Linked DNA regions of Homo sapiens: regions 1, 2, 3 and 4 are each linked to region 5. Evidence: promoter capture Hi-C in 16 types of primary human blood cells and fetal thymus (Javierre and others, 2016). All regions are on one chromosome and are shown on one strand. The core of a region is centred on a gene start or on the middle of the fragment in contact, and the rest is flanking DNA. Distances in the headings are between cores, read along the strand shown. Region 1 holds the start of RSC1A1 (regulator of solute carriers 1). Region 2 holds the start of PLEKHM2 (pleckstrin homology and RUN domain containing M2). Region 3 holds the start of SLC25A34 (solute carrier family 25 member 34). Region 4 holds the start of SPATA21 (spermatogenesis associated 21). Region 5 holds the start of CLCNKB (chloride voltage-gated channel Kb).

Region 1 (2,700 bases), core at 39-2,538, 380 kb after region 5:
CTTCTTCAGATGTATTTTCTGAAGCTGGTTTACTGCTAACAACCAAAAGTTCATGAAGTTCTTTCAAGGCTGCCGTTATAGACGGGCAAGATTCTTCTGCTGACTCCACAGAAGGCTGACAACTGCCACAGAGACTTGGAGAGGAGTAATGGCCATATTCTTTATTTGTTCCAGGTATTTCAACATTAGTTTCTGGGGGCTGTAAATCCTGAGTGGAAATGGAATCATTCAAAATTTCAGATGAAGGGTTACATTTTGATGTTTCTACTTCCATCAAGGGATTATCTAAAGTGAGATCCAATGCACCAATGTTCTTGACATTGGCATTCTGCCTGCCTGTTGAATTAAGCAAAGTAACTAGGGACTGTTGAGCTGTATCGATTTCCATAAATGTTTCTGAATTTGAGCAGCCACTGCATTCTGAAGATGGAATACTTTTCTTCGCACTTGGAGGATCCACATTCTGTGGGAGCCCATTTCCTTTCATCGTAGCTTCCAAATCAACAATTTTGTGTTGATTCTGTTGCCTTTCTTCAGGAAGCTCAAGGTCCCCTATGTTACAAAGATATTCTTGGTCATGTGAAGCTTTTTGTTGTGCAACCTCATACTGTTCATTCCCTGGTTCTTCGTGCTGCTGAGGGTCACTCACTTGACTCAGGTTCTGATTTTCTGGATGCCAATCCTTTTCACCTAGAAACATCTGTGGTTCATGCATCCTAGTAGATGTGACAGATAAACTAGCTTCCTGTCTTGTATGGAGATGAAATTTGAGGCCCTGGGTGCTTCTTTCAGCAGATTTCTCCAGATTACCTGCAACAGTTATTTCTTCGGATGAATTCTGCATAGGCATAGCTGGACTCTGGTCTGTTGGAGCATGGTCTGCTGAGGAAGCATGATCAGAAAGATCTTGTAAAGAAAGATGTTCTTTCTTTTCAGAGTTTAGCTGGAATTCAGCTGAAGCCTTCAAAGCCTTCACAGCTTTAGGTTCAATGCGATCTGAGTCACTGGGCTTGATAGGGCAGACTGAAGCAGAGACAGAGCGAGCAAGACTCATAGGATTACCAACATCAGGACTCTGTCCTGAAGAACGGGCGGGATGGTTAAACCCATCTGAAGTTGGTAATGATGACATTCCCAGTGAGGTAGATTCTTTACCACTTTTCTCTATATGGAACACAGGGGAAAGGAAAAAGATTAATTAGCAGGTGACTAATGCCACTAAATTACCAGAGGATACAAATCTAAACAGCGTAGAATAAAATAAGGTCCTCAAACTCGGGTTTCTCTTACACAAATAGAAATGATTTTAAAATTACTTTCTCATTGTGGTAGACATTCACAGCATCAGAATAAGAGGTAGACATGTTCTTAATAAAATCTGCATACTGTAATTCAATGTGATTAAGTATCCATTAATATGCATTCACATAATGGCGGGGTTAGTGCTCAGGAATGAAGGACATTTATGTTTCTTTATTCCCTAGTCTAGTCTACAACTCTAGAATAGTTTCTCCAAGTGTACTTTTTTCACCACTTGCCCTAAAACCACCAGGGACGCTTGTGAAGTATGCAGACCCTGGGGTACCATACTTGAGAGTAAATCCAGGAATGTGCATTTTCAATAAGCTCCTTGGGTGATTCTTAAGGATATTACAAATCCTGAGAATCTTTGCACCAGAATGATTCTCATGTTAATGCACTTTTCTTGTTTCAAATGTGAACACTGAGGTTACAAATGAGAAGTCTTAAACCAGGTATACCTGGACAGAGAGGGAATTATAAAGAGAAATAAGAAATAACATAATGCTTGGGGACAGAGAAGCAAATGTTCTATTTTATTTCTAGCCAAGCTTTCCAAAAATCATGGTAAAACTGGGTGAGCATCTGACTCAGAAAACAAAAGTAAACTAATGATCAGCAGATTAAATCACAATCATCATCCTACCAAATAATACAACTCTAAACTTAAAAGGCTTATAAGTTTTTATCACATCAATAGTGTGCAACTAAGTTAAGAATATTTAAATGTTTTAAAGAAAGGGGAATGTGGAGGGAGATGGTTCATTAATAGTTTTTCAACTGGCAATGACTATTTAGATTCACTGCTACCTTAGACCACCCAAACAAGACGGCTCAGTGTAAGCATCATAGTATCATTAAACATCATTTCCAGCTCTTCTTTTGCCACCAATCCAGTTAAAAATTGACCTCTACGCATGTAAGTGTAAGAATTTTTTTTTTTTTTTAAGACTGTGTTTTGCTCTTGTTGCCCAGACAGGAGTACAATGGCGCCATCTGAGCTCACCGCAACCTCCGCCTCCCGGGTCCAAGCGATTCTCCTGCCTCAGAGTAGCTGGGATTACATGCATGCGCCACACACCCGACTAATTTTGCATTTTTAGTAGAGATGAGGTTTCTCCACGTTGGTCAGGGTGGTCTCAAACTCTTGACCTCAGGTGATCCGCCCGCCTCAGCCTCCCAAAGTGCTTGGATTACAGGCAAGAGCCACCGCACCCGACCATTGTAAGATCTTTAATTAAAAATCAAAAAGGGCTGGGCACAGTGGCTCATGCCTGTAATCCCAGCACTTTGGGAGGCCGAGGCAGGTGGATCACCTGAGGTCAGGAGTTCGAGACCAGCCTGGCCAACGTGGTGAAACCTCATCTCTACTAAAAATACAAAAATTAGCCAGGCGTGGTG
Region 2 (2,700 bases), core at 16-2,515, 360 kb after region 5:
TTCTCTTTTTTCTTTCTTTCTTTCTTTTTTTTTTTTTTTTTTTCAGTTTCTGAGACTATCTGGTGAGCCAGGAATTCAAATTACACAAACACACACACAGAGAGGGAGAGAGAGAGAAAAATCCATTCTGATTTGGCCATTTAGGTTTTCAGTGAATATGGATTCTTTTAAATTTATTATTATTATTTTTATATCCAGCCCAAAAACGTCAGAATATGGATTCTACCTTCTAGCACGGACCCTTTTGCGGATATGCCAACTTCATCACAAATACATGCCCTTGACAGGTATGTACTCATTTCTACCTGGAATTGGGACAGTGATGTTTACTGCGGCAAGCCCCACAGCAAGGTGTCTGTGGTGTCACCCGGTTCCCCGGATCAGCATCCAAAATGCAATCCCCATGTACTTCAGGTTCTTATAATCAAAGCCCCTAGTGAACCTCTTCAAAGCTACCATCCTTGAGCAAGATTATTCAGGGGACTTCCCAGGAGCAGAGGCAATGTCGCCGGGACCCAGGCCATGGGAAAGTGAAGTTGCTTATCACTGGCCTCCACCCTGACTGCCAGACCCTGGGCGACGCCAGCCTGGCGGGGGGACCCGGGGATGCAGCGGATTCCACAGGAGGCTGCATGGGGTTCCTTCAGGAGCTCCCGGGGGCGCCGCTGCCCCAGTGGGGGACCGGAGGGTCGCTGACCCCTCTCCGGGAGGGCAGGGCCCCGGGCCAGGTTTGGGGAAGCTCCGAGGATGCTGACCTCAACTTTGTTCTTTAAAAATAGCTCCGAGGCCGCGGCGCTCACGTGAGCGGCGCCGCTTCCCCTCTACCGGCCCGGGGCTCCCGGCCGCTCGTCGCCCCCCGGGTCGCGGAGGGGAAGGGCGGGGGGCCCCGGCCCGGGAGAGCGCCGCCGGAGGGCGTGGGGGGCGCGGCGAGGAAGGGGCCCCGGCCGGGAGGGAGGCCGCGCTCACCTTCTTCACCGACAGCGAGATGTTCTCCAGGATCCGGTCCTTCACCTCCCCCGGCTCCATGGCGCTGCCACCGTCGCCGCCACCGCCACCGCCACCGCCGCCGCCGCCCCGCCGCCGCTTCCCGCGCCGGGGGCCGGGGGCCGCCGCCAACCGCTGCCGCCGGCCGTACGGGGGCTCCGTCGTGCCGGCCGCGGGGCCCGGCGCCCGCCGCCCGGCCCTCGCCTCGCCTGGGCCCTCGCTCCACCGCGGCCCGGAGGCTCCGGAGCGCGGCCGGCGGGGAAGGAGGCCGCGGGCTGTGCGCCGCGGCGGCGGCGGCGGCAGGAACTGATGTCAGGCGGGGCGGCGCCAGGGCCCGCCTGCGCCTGGGGACTCCGGGGACCCGGAGACCCGCACAGACCCTTGGCCGCGGCCCTCCCCAGAGACCCCGAGACCCGCCCCCAGCCCTCCTCAAGTCACAGACTCTCCCCGGCACCCCAGAGACACCCTCAGACCCCAGGGACGCCAGAGACCTCGACCCCGCCTGCCGGGGACCTCGGGGCTCCTCAGAGACCCTCCCCAAGCCCTCCTCAGCCCACAGATTCCTTCAGGGACCCCAGAGACACCCTCAGACCCCAGGGACTCCGGACACCCCGACCCCGCCTGCCAGAGACCCCCACAGACCCTGGGACCCCGGCCCTCCTCGGAGACCCTCCCCCAGGCCTCGTCAGCCCACAGATTCCCTCAGGGACCCCAGAGACACCCTCAGACCCCAGGAACTCCGGAGACCCCGACCCCGCCTGCCCGGGACACCGGCCCTCCTCAGAGACCCTGGAGACCCTCCCCCTCAGCCCTCAGGCCATAGACTCCCCCCTGGGACCTCAGAGACACCCTCAGACTCCAGGGACTCCGGAGACCCCAACCCCACCTGCTGGGGACCCCCACAGACCCTGGGCCCCCAGCCCTCCTCAGAGACCCCCAAAGACCCCGAGGCACTGGCCCTCCCCAGAGACCCTGAGACCCTCCCCACAGCCCTCCTCAGCCCACAGGATCCCCCCACAAAACCCCAGAGACTCCCACAGGCCCCAAGGACTCTGGAGACTCCGACCCCACAGGCCAGAGACCCCCACAGACCCTGAGACCCCGGCCCTCCTCAGAGACTCGAGACACCCACAGACCCTGGGCCCCCTCCCGCCGGCCCTCTTTAGTCCACAGACCCCTCCTTGGAGACCCCAGTGCACCCCACTAACTCTGGCCAGGGACCCCAAGACCCTCTTAGCCTGCAAGCCCCACTTATCTTCCTCCCCTTCCTTAGCCCAGCCACCCCCTCAATGTGCAGACCCAGGCCCCCTGGCTTTCGCAGCCTGGAGGACCCAGCACCCCCACCGGGTCAGCCTAGACTCCAGTCCCCAGCCCTAGACCCTCCCTGGGCCCCCTGGCCCTCCACAGCCTCCCCTCCTCAGTGCCTCACCCTCAAGGCCCAGTCCTACATTTGAGGTCCCTGGTGTTCCTCCCCACCCCCAAAACACACCCTCCTCACCTTCAGCCCCAATGCCCCATTCCCACTCCTTATCCTTATCCCTCTTCTTCAGCCCCACGTATCCCAAGGGCCTCAACTCCCTCAGCCCCTGAAACCCACCGTAACAACTCTCTTCCCACACACCCTCCTCAAATCCACCATCTCATAAAGCCCCTGCACTTAGAGGTGTCAGTCTCCTACCTGGCTCTCTTCCCTCCTTAAGTTCCCAAATAAATATA
Region 3 (2,700 bases), core at 1-2,500, 310 kb after region 5:
AGCTCTGCCAACTGGGCTCAAGTGATTCTCCTGCCTCAGCCTCCCCGGTAGCTGGGATTACAGGCATGCATCACCACGCCCAGCTAATTTTTGTACTTTTTAGCAGAGACAGGGTTTCACCATGTTGACCATGCTGGTCTCAAACTCCTGACCTCAGGTGATCTGCCCGCCTCGGCCTCCCAAAGTGCTGGGATTACAGGCGTGAGCCACTGCACCCAGCCAAGGGTAGCTTTCTTCAAAACATTTTTTAATTTTTTATTTGTTTTGGGTGGCCCTGAGGCCCCCCTGCAGAGTGCACACGAGGCGGAGGCCCTCAAGGGTAGCTTTTATTCTTATCGTACATGAGGCCATGCGGGAAGAGAAGTAACCAAGCCAGGATTTGAGCCAGCACATCTGACACCCTCTGCCCCCTCCCCTGGCTCAGGACCAGTGGGGCAGGGACCGCAGGGGAGCATGGATCAGAGCAAGGCCCTGGGCCAAGGGGCAGATTCCAGGCTTGGGCTAGGATGTTCCAGGGAGCAGCCCCACCCCGGCTGCCCCACCCCACCCAGGTCCACTGAGCCCTGCCTTTGGAGGCTGCAGGGCCCCTGTGGGAGCTGGGTCATGGGATGGTGGAGGGTGGACGATGGAGACAAGCCACTCACCAGGTAAGCAGGGCTCCCCACGAAGGCTCCCAGTGCCCCCGCCACGGCTCCCGCAACCACGGTGCCACCTGGTTGCTGCGTGAGGCCAGCCTGGCACGCCAGGCTGTAGCAGTAGAAACGAACGCCATTCATGAGGCCTTGGTACAGAAGGCCGGCAGCCAGCCCCTTCTGCAGGCCCCACAGCCCGTCTGCTCGGGCCACAGCAGCGACAGAGGCTATGAAGCCATGGTAGGGCCGTGGGTAGGTGCCCCGGGCCTGCAGCTCCCCCTGCAGCTGCAGCCGCGTCTTCACCACCTCCAGGGGGTTGGTGAAGACACAGGCCAGGCAGCAGGCAGAAGCACCCAGCACCAGGTCCACTGCTGGGGGCACCGTCTCCATGGCCTCCGGGCCAGTGGCCTTCTGTGCCCGGGTCAGGGGCACGGCACAGGCCCTGTGGTGGTGGCGTTTAGGCTGTCTGTAACCTCGCAGGGCTACGGGGCTGGGGTTTGCAGGGGACCGAGGCCATGTCTAGAGGGTAAGGGTCCTGGTCTGACAGGCCTGTGGCTGCCTGGTGTCCCTGGTCTATCTCAGCAGTCCACCTGCTCTGCTCAGCTGTTCCAGCGGTCTGCCGGAGCCTGGGACGCGCCTCCGCCAGCTGCGACCAATCCCAGCTGCCTCTGTGCCCACACCTGCCAGCCGAGGGCGGGCCTGGACCCTGGGATCTGGGGGAAAGGTCACTTGGGACTGGAGGGAGAGCGTGGATAGGGAGAAGGTGCCAACCAGCCCAGGCACCTCCTCCTGGCCTCCCTCTGGCCCTGGGCAAAGGGCTGGCACCCCTGCCTTGCCTCTGGCTTAGCCTGTCCAGCTTTGGCAGAGCCCTAGGCAGGGGGCAAGTGACTGGGAGGTCCCTGGCATGGGGTACACGGCCAACTCCGCCCCTGCCCCACCCTGCCCCTGATATGCCCCTGGTGACTGACTTCCCCTTTCCAGGACTCAAGTCTTCAGTCTGGCTCCCACCGTCTATAGGCCCATGCTCAGCAGGGTCAGAAGTAGAGAAGGGCTCTGGAGCCCTGGGGAGCTGATTGGAATCCCAGGTGTGGCTCTCATGTGTGACCCCTGGGCAAGTCACTTCCTCTCAGAGCTTCAGTTTCTCTCATTTGTAAAATGGAGATACTGACATCCACTCCAGAAGGTTCTGTGGAGGACTGGCGATGAGAAGAGTGTGCCTAGGTCAGTGCTGCACCCGATAAAGGCACCCGCATCGCCTGCTCGCCCCCACCCCCACTGCCTCTGGCTCCTATGCCCCCCTCGCTGCTCCCAGGACTTCAGGGCACCTGGGTGAGTAGGACTTGAGGAGTGACCTTGGCTGGTAAGGACTTGCTGCCAGGCCTGCCCTGGGATGCCCTTTGTGCCCGCTGAGAAGAGAACGCCACCTGGGCCAGCTGTCAGGTGTGTCTGCTCAGGCTGGGGCCGGTACCAACATGCCCACCTTGGCCTCTGCCCCCAGACAGCTCTCTCCTGCCAGGCCACCCTCAGTCACCCAAGGCCCAGTCCAAACTAGAGGCAGAACCACCCAAGTTGGAGTCCCACACCCACCTCCCAGGGCCCACCCCTTCCCTCCCAGGCCCTTGAGGCAGCAATGCTGAGTGGCTTGAGGGCCTCAGGCTCCCGGCCTGGCAGGGTTGTCACCCTCTGGCCAGCCCTGGAGGGGACGGCGCAGCAAGAGGCAGCGAGGACAGCTTGGATTCTCCTGGGTTTGGGCACTCACCCCCGGGGCTGTGGAGGCAGGAGCGTCCTGCCCCGGGGTGGGCTGCAGATGGTGGGCGGCGGTGCAGACGTGCCCTGGGGCTTGAGCTGGTGGCTGCTCCTCCCCTGGCTGCTGCAGCAAACAGGAACAGGACGGAGGGCAAAGGTCGGGCCGAGAAACTCCCAGGGCCTGAGGGTCTGCAGACGGTGAGTCCGCCCGGCAGCGGTGGCTGATCTGGTTCTGCATGTCCCGTGTGTCCCTTGTGTCAGGCACAGGGCAGATGATGGAGGAAGGTTTGCAGAAAAGGGCCCAAGGGATTTGGAGAGCTCC
Region 4 (2,700 bases), core at 31-2,530, 390 kb before region 5:
ATGTTTAGTGGTTTTGTTTTGTTTTGTTTTGTTTGAAACAGCATCTCACTCTGTTGCCCAGGCTGGAAAGCACTGGCATGATCATGGCTCACTGCAGCCTCAACCTCCCAGGCTCAAGTGATCCTCCCAACTCAGCCTCCCAAGTAGCTGGGACTACAGGTGTGAACCACCATGTCCGGCCTTGCTCACCTTTTTGAGGAGCCTCCAAACTGTCTTCCACAGCAGCAGCACCATTTACGTTCACAAGGGTTTCAATTTCTTCACATTTTTGCAAATATTGGTTATTTTTCTTTTCTTTTCTTTTCTTTTTCTTTTCTTTTTTTTTTTTTTTTTAGACAGGGTCTCTCTCTTTCTTTCTCTCTCTGTCACCCCACACTGGAGTGCAATGGTGCGATCATCACTCACTGCAGCCTCAAATTCCCGGGCTCAAGGGATCCTCCTGCCTCAACCTTTTGAGTAGCTGGGCCTACAGGCACACACCACCCTACCCTGCTATTTTTCTTACTTTTTGTAGAGACGGGGGTCTTGCTATGTTGCCCAGGCTGGTCTTGAATTCCTGTCTTCAAGAGATCCTCCTGCCTCAGCCTTCCAAAGTGCTAGGATTATAGGCATGAGCCACCATACCTGGCCTTATTTTCCAATTTTTTTTTTTTTGAGACTAAGTCTCACTCTACCACCCAGGCTGGAAGACAGTGGCATGATCTCAGCTCACTGCAACTTCTGCCTCCCAGGTTCAAGTGATTCTCGTGCCTCAGCCTCCTAAGTAGCTGGGATTACAGGCATGCGCCACCATGCCTGGCTAATTTTTGTATTTTTAGTAGAGACGGGGTTTCACCATGTTGGCCAGGCTGGTCTATAACTCGACCTCAAGTGATCCACCCACCTCGGCCTCCCAAAGTGCTGGGATTACAGGTGTGAGCCACCGCACCCAGCCATTCAGAGCACTTTCAGTTCTGTTCAGTCTAACAAAGACAGGCATCGAGCACATACCCTATGCCAGGTGCTGAGTACTGGGGTCACTGGGATGTGGCCAATCCAGCTCCTACCATCCTGGAGCTCGCAGACTGGAGGAGACAGAGAGAAAAGCAGTCATTGGCAAAGCAGAATGAAAGGTACTGTAATGAAGCAAATTCACAGGGGCCTGTGGGAGCAAAGAGAAGAAACCCCACACAGTCTGGGGAGAGTCAGGGAAGGCTTTCTGGGAGAGAGTACCCTGGCCCAATAATCACTGTGAGGTTGGCAAGGCAACGATTGTTATCTTCATTGTGTAATGGGGGCCACTGAACCAGTGACAAGCTGGGGGAAATGACACTGTCCAGTAGTTGGAGGTCACACAGCCCCTTGCCTTATTCTCAAACCCTAACCACATGGCTGGATATTCCTGAAATGCATTCCTAAACCTCTGCTGCTGAGAATAATTGGACCTGCCATCTATTCCCAGTTTAACTGCCCTGTATACCAAACAAATCCAATTCAAGCCAACAGGCAAAGTATAGGCTCAGACAGAGCCCATCCTATGTGCAAGGCGGTGAGCAGGGGTGGAAAATCTCACTGTGACTCATCCAGCTGATTTCTGGTAGGTGCAGGGCCAAGGTGGGGTGTAAGGTGAACAAGCTTTCCCTGACGGCCTCCAGACATATATATGATATGCCACTTATCTTTATCTGCTGTATTTTCCTGCCATCATAGATATTTCCAAGAGAAATTCTCCCATTTTTCAGATGAGGAAACCACTTATAAAAGGGGCACTCAATACCCAAAGAATTTTGAAAAAGAACAAAGTTGGAGGACTCACACTTCCTGATTTCAAAACTTTTTATTTATTTATTTATTTATTTGTTTTTCCATAGGTTATTGGGGTACAGGTGGTATTTGGCTACATGACTAAGGTTTTTGTTTTTTGGTGTTTTTTTTTTGTTTACATTAGTAATTTTTTTTGAGACGGAGTCTTGCTCTGTTGCCCAGGCTGGCGTGTAGTGGTGCAGTCTCTGCTCACTGCAACCTCCATCTCCCAGGTTCAAGCGATTCTCCTGCCTCAGCCTCCCAAGTACCTAGGATTACAGGCAGGCACCACCATGCCCAGCTAATTTTTGTATTTTTAGTAGAAACAGGATTTCACCATGTTAGCCAGGGTGATCTCAAACTCCTGACCTCGAGTGATCTGCCCCCCTTGGCATCCCAAAGTTCTGGGATTACAGGCGTGAGCCACCTTGCCCTGCATGAGTAGGTTCTTTAGTGGTGATTTGTAAGATTTTGGTCCACCCATCACCTGAGCAGTATACACTGCACCCTATCTGTATTTTTTTTTTTTTTTTTTGAGACAGAGTCTCACCCTGTCATCTAGGCTGGAGTGCAATGGTGCGATCTCGGCTCACTGCAACCCTCCACCTGCCAGGTTCAAGCAATTCTCCTGCCTCAGCCTCCTGACTAGCTGGGATTACAGGCATGTGCCACCATGCCCGGCTAATTCTGTACTTTTAGTAGAGACGGGGTTTCTCCATGTTGGTCAGGCTGGTCTCAAACTCCCAACCTCAGGTGATCTGCCCGCCTCGGCCTCCCAAAGTGCTGGGATTACAGGCACGCACCACCACACTCAGCTAATTTTTTGTATCTTTAGTAGAGATGGGGTTTCACCTTGCTGGCCAGGCTGGTCTCAAACTCCTGACCTCATGATCCGCCCGCCTCAGCCTCCCAGAGTGC
Region 5 (2,700 bases), core at 78-2,577:
TAGCCCAGCCTGGGAGCTGGCCCTCACTGGCTGTGGGCACCAGCCCCTGGGGTTGCAGTCAGCCTCCTTCTGTGGTCCCTACTTGCTCTGCCCCGTAGCTGAGGGGACAGTCAGGTCTCAAAGTGAACAAAGCACATGGGGCTCCAAGGAAAGGTGCCAAGTGTAGGCTGCCCCAGCCCCTTGCTGTGGCCCCAGCTGTCCCAGCAGCTAACCCCCACGTCCCCTCATTGGCACAGGTAGGTGAGGGAGAGGCCTGGGTGGAAGATGGGCACAGTGACCAGGCCTTGGGCTGTATCTCCCGAAAGGCAGAGGGCAGATGCCCGGCCCATCTGACCCACAGACAGCTGGACAGACAGACCCCTTCCCTCCCTGCCACCCAGGAGACTTTGGGCAGTCATGTCCTGGACAAATGCCAGGAGGAGGGTGGTTCCTGGGCAGGGAGGTGGGGTGGGAGCTGGGCAGGAATGATGTCCTGAGTGGTCCTCCAGGGGGAAGGGAAGAGGACCTGGCTCTCACCTCGGATGCCTCGGCGGATGCGGGGACAGGGGCCCCACAGCTCCTGCAGAGTCACAGGGTTCCCTGAGGAGCCTTCACGCAGCCCCACAAACTCCTCCATCAGGCCCCTGGAGAAGCGGATAGAGGGAGGGACCGCGGTGAGCTGCTGCACGTCCTCGCACTGCCTCTAGGCCCTTCCAGTGCTCTCCCCACCCATGAAGAGGAAAGATTGTGCGTGTGTGTGTGTGTGTGTGTGTATGTGAAGTTATCACACTAGGTCTGTGTGTGCCTTCATCCCTGAGTTTCCGTCACTGAGGGTGTGTGCCTGTGTGTGTCATTGTGTGGGATGGGGGTGGGATTCCTAGGTGTCCCCCTGTGTCCAGCAGCAGACTGGGCACAGGCCGGAGCCCAAGCCCTGCTCAGAGCCCCTTCCCCTTCGGTGGCAGCCGCTCCCACCCTCCTGGGTCACTTGGCGCTTCCACTGCTGGGAGCAGTCTCTGCCCAGGGCTGTGACACTCTCACTGCAGAGTCCCATGGATGGCTCTGACTCTCCCTGTCCACCTATGAGCACCCCTGACCCCAGCTCAGGCCACAGAGGCAGCAAAACCCCAGGCCCAGAAGAAGATCCCACCAGGGCCAAAGTGAGGTGCTGGCTCCTGCCCTTACCACCCCCCCCCCCCCGCCCTGCCTGTCTGGCCCTGGCAGGCCCCAGCATCTTGCAGCGACCCCTCACCTGTCAGTCCTCCTGCTGTGGCTGAGCTGGCCCTCCTCTCACAGAGCCTCCAGCTCCCCTGCACCTGGACAGGTGTGTGTTCCAACAATCAACATCCTCCCCCCTTTCCCGCCTGGGCCCAGGGTTTATGGCGAACACTTAGAATGTCCTTGAAAACCGATCAGAACTGCCCAGGCCGGAGCAGAGCAGAGCAGAGCTGCCAACAGGGAGGGGAACAGGAGCCTCCCCACCCACCATAGCTGCACAGAGGGTGGTGCCCAGCTGTACTCAGGCTCCTGGGTGCTGCTGGACGGGGGCTGGGAAGGGGGAGCTCACGCACACAGCAGGACAGAGAGGGGTCATCTGCCAAGGCTGAGGCTCAGGGTCCAGGGGTCTCAGAGCTGGACATGGAAGGTTTGGAAAAGCACAGAGGGAGAGGGGAGGAGGCTGGGCAGAGAAGGAGAAAGCAGGCCGGCAAAGGTGAGTGGGGCCAGCATGACCACAGCCTCCCTGTGTGCCAGGTAGAGAGTCAGCCTTCCCCTAGATTAATTACCCTGAGTGCCCACGGAAATCCCACGAGGCAGGCAGCGTGATCCCGTTGTAGAGAAATGGTGTCTCAGGGAGGTGGGGCTGCCCGTCTAAGATCACGGAGGCCGAGGCAGCGCCAGGATTCCCAGCCCAGGTTTGCCTGGCTCCAAAGCCCGCAGGCTGTGCCACACGGTCCCATCCTGATGACCCATCTTGTCCAGGGCTGGCGAGGAGGCCGACACCTGGGGCAAGGCAGTGAATTGGGGTCAGGAACTCAGACTTGATCCTGTGTCCAGACCCTCCAGGCTCAGGAAATGCCTCTCAAAGCACACGTCCAAGGGCCAGCGGCTCTGGTGGGGACTTCTGGGTAATTCCACAGAGTTTGTCCCACCCCAACAGAGGATGGCAGCACAGGTGTGAGGGGACATGGCGAGGAACAAGCACGTGCCGTGTGCCTGCAACGTGTCAGAAGCGTCACATCCGCAGCTCAAGTCCTCCTCCCCACACCCTGTGAATGGGGAGAGCCTCGCCATTTTGTAGATGGTCAGAGAGGTGAGTCACTCATCCAAGGTCACACAGCAGAGGCTGAACCCAGCCCCACACTGTGCAGCTCTTCCCCTGCCCAAAGCTCCTCCAGCTCCTGAGGCTGAACCAGGGCAATGGTTTGGGCACAGAACAGAAGAGTTGTGTCTGATGCCACTTTGGGGCAAGATGTTGGGGGCAATTGCCTCCAGTCCTACCCAGACAAAGCCACTCTCTGAATAACATGATGGCCCTTGGATGATTGTTAAAATCTGGGACCCTGGGCCACCCTTTGCCCCTAGATGCCAGGCAAGTCAAATCAAAATTGAAGGTGTGTGTTGTGGGAGGTGGGATGGGGGTTGCCGCTCTGCATGAACCCGAGCCCACCTTCATCTTGGCCACCCTGACCTGTTGACTCTGCACAGCACCAGAACTGGCTGCCC

Evidence for each region. The method cuts DNA at HindIII sites, captures the fragments that hold promoters and counts their contacts. A CHiCAGO score of 5 or more calls a contact.
Region 1: a contact is called between the fragment with the promoter of RSC1A1 here and the fragment with the promoter of CLCNKB in region 5, in 13 of 17 cell types (non-activated CD4 T cells, activated CD4 T cells, naive CD8 T cells and 10 more). The highest score is 10.2, in non-activated CD4 T cells.
Region 2: the fragment with the promoter of PLEKHM2 here is called in contact with the fragment with the promoter of CLCNKB in region 5 in 13 of 17 cell types (M0 macrophages, neutrophils, endothelial precursors and 10 more); the score reaches 10.6 in M0 macrophages.
Region 3: the fragment with the promoter of SLC25A34 here is called in contact with the fragment with the promoter of CLCNKB in region 5 in 4 of 17 cell types (erythroblasts, naive CD8 T cells, neutrophils and 1 more); the score reaches 10.4 in erythroblasts.
Region 4: the fragment with the promoter of SPATA21 here is called in contact with the fragment with the promoter of CLCNKB in region 5 in 4 of 17 cell types (endothelial precursors, M1 macrophages, monocytes and 1 more); the score reaches 8.2 in endothelial precursors.

What each region holds. Positions count from the first base shown.
Region 1 is chr1:15,658,301-15,661,000 of GRCh38, reverse strand. It overlaps RSC1A1 (regulator of solute carriers 1), which reads right to left and starts at 1,288. Exons shown (of 1, transcript NM_006511.3): 1 at 1-1,288. The coding sequence starts at 1,132. DDI2 (DDI proteasomal shuttling factor 2) reads right to left here. Exons shown (of 10, transcript NM_032341.5): 10 at 1-1,164. The HindIII fragment of the contact is 1,265 bases long and covers 588-1,852 here.
Region 2 is chr1:15,682,885-15,685,584 of GRCh38, reverse strand. PLEKHM2 (pleckstrin homology and RUN domain containing M2) reads right to left here and starts at 1,265. Exons shown (of 20, transcript NM_015164.4): 1 at 967-1,265. The coding sequence starts at 1,026. RefSeq lists an enhancer at 282-341 and silencers at 572-641, 1,162-1,241, 1,332-1,411. The HindIII fragment of the contact is 15,543 bases long and covers 1-2,700 here.
Region 3 is chr1:15,734,808-15,737,507 of GRCh38, reverse strand. SLC25A34 (solute carrier family 25 member 34) reads right to left here and starts at 1,250. Exons shown (of 5, transcript NM_207348.3): 1 at 645-1,250. The coding sequence starts at 1,022. RefSeq lists enhancers at 1,384-2,150, 2,151-2,700. The HindIII fragment of the contact is 4,526 bases long and covers 1-2,700 here.
Region 4 is chr1:16,436,004-16,438,703 of GRCh38, reverse strand. It overlaps SPATA21 (spermatogenesis associated 21), which reads left to right and starts at 1,280. Exons shown (of 13, transcript NM_198546.1): 1 at 1,280-1,576. RefSeq lists a silencer at 380-550. The HindIII fragment of the contact is 2,188 bases long and covers 1-1,616 here.
Region 5 is chr1:16,042,409-16,045,108 of GRCh38, reverse strand. It overlaps CLCNKB (chloride voltage-gated channel Kb), which reads right to left and starts at 1,327. Exons shown (of 20, transcript NM_000085.5): 1 at 1,229-1,327; 2 at 517-623. The coding sequence starts at 616. The HindIII fragment of the contact is 13,884 bases long and covers 1-2,700 here.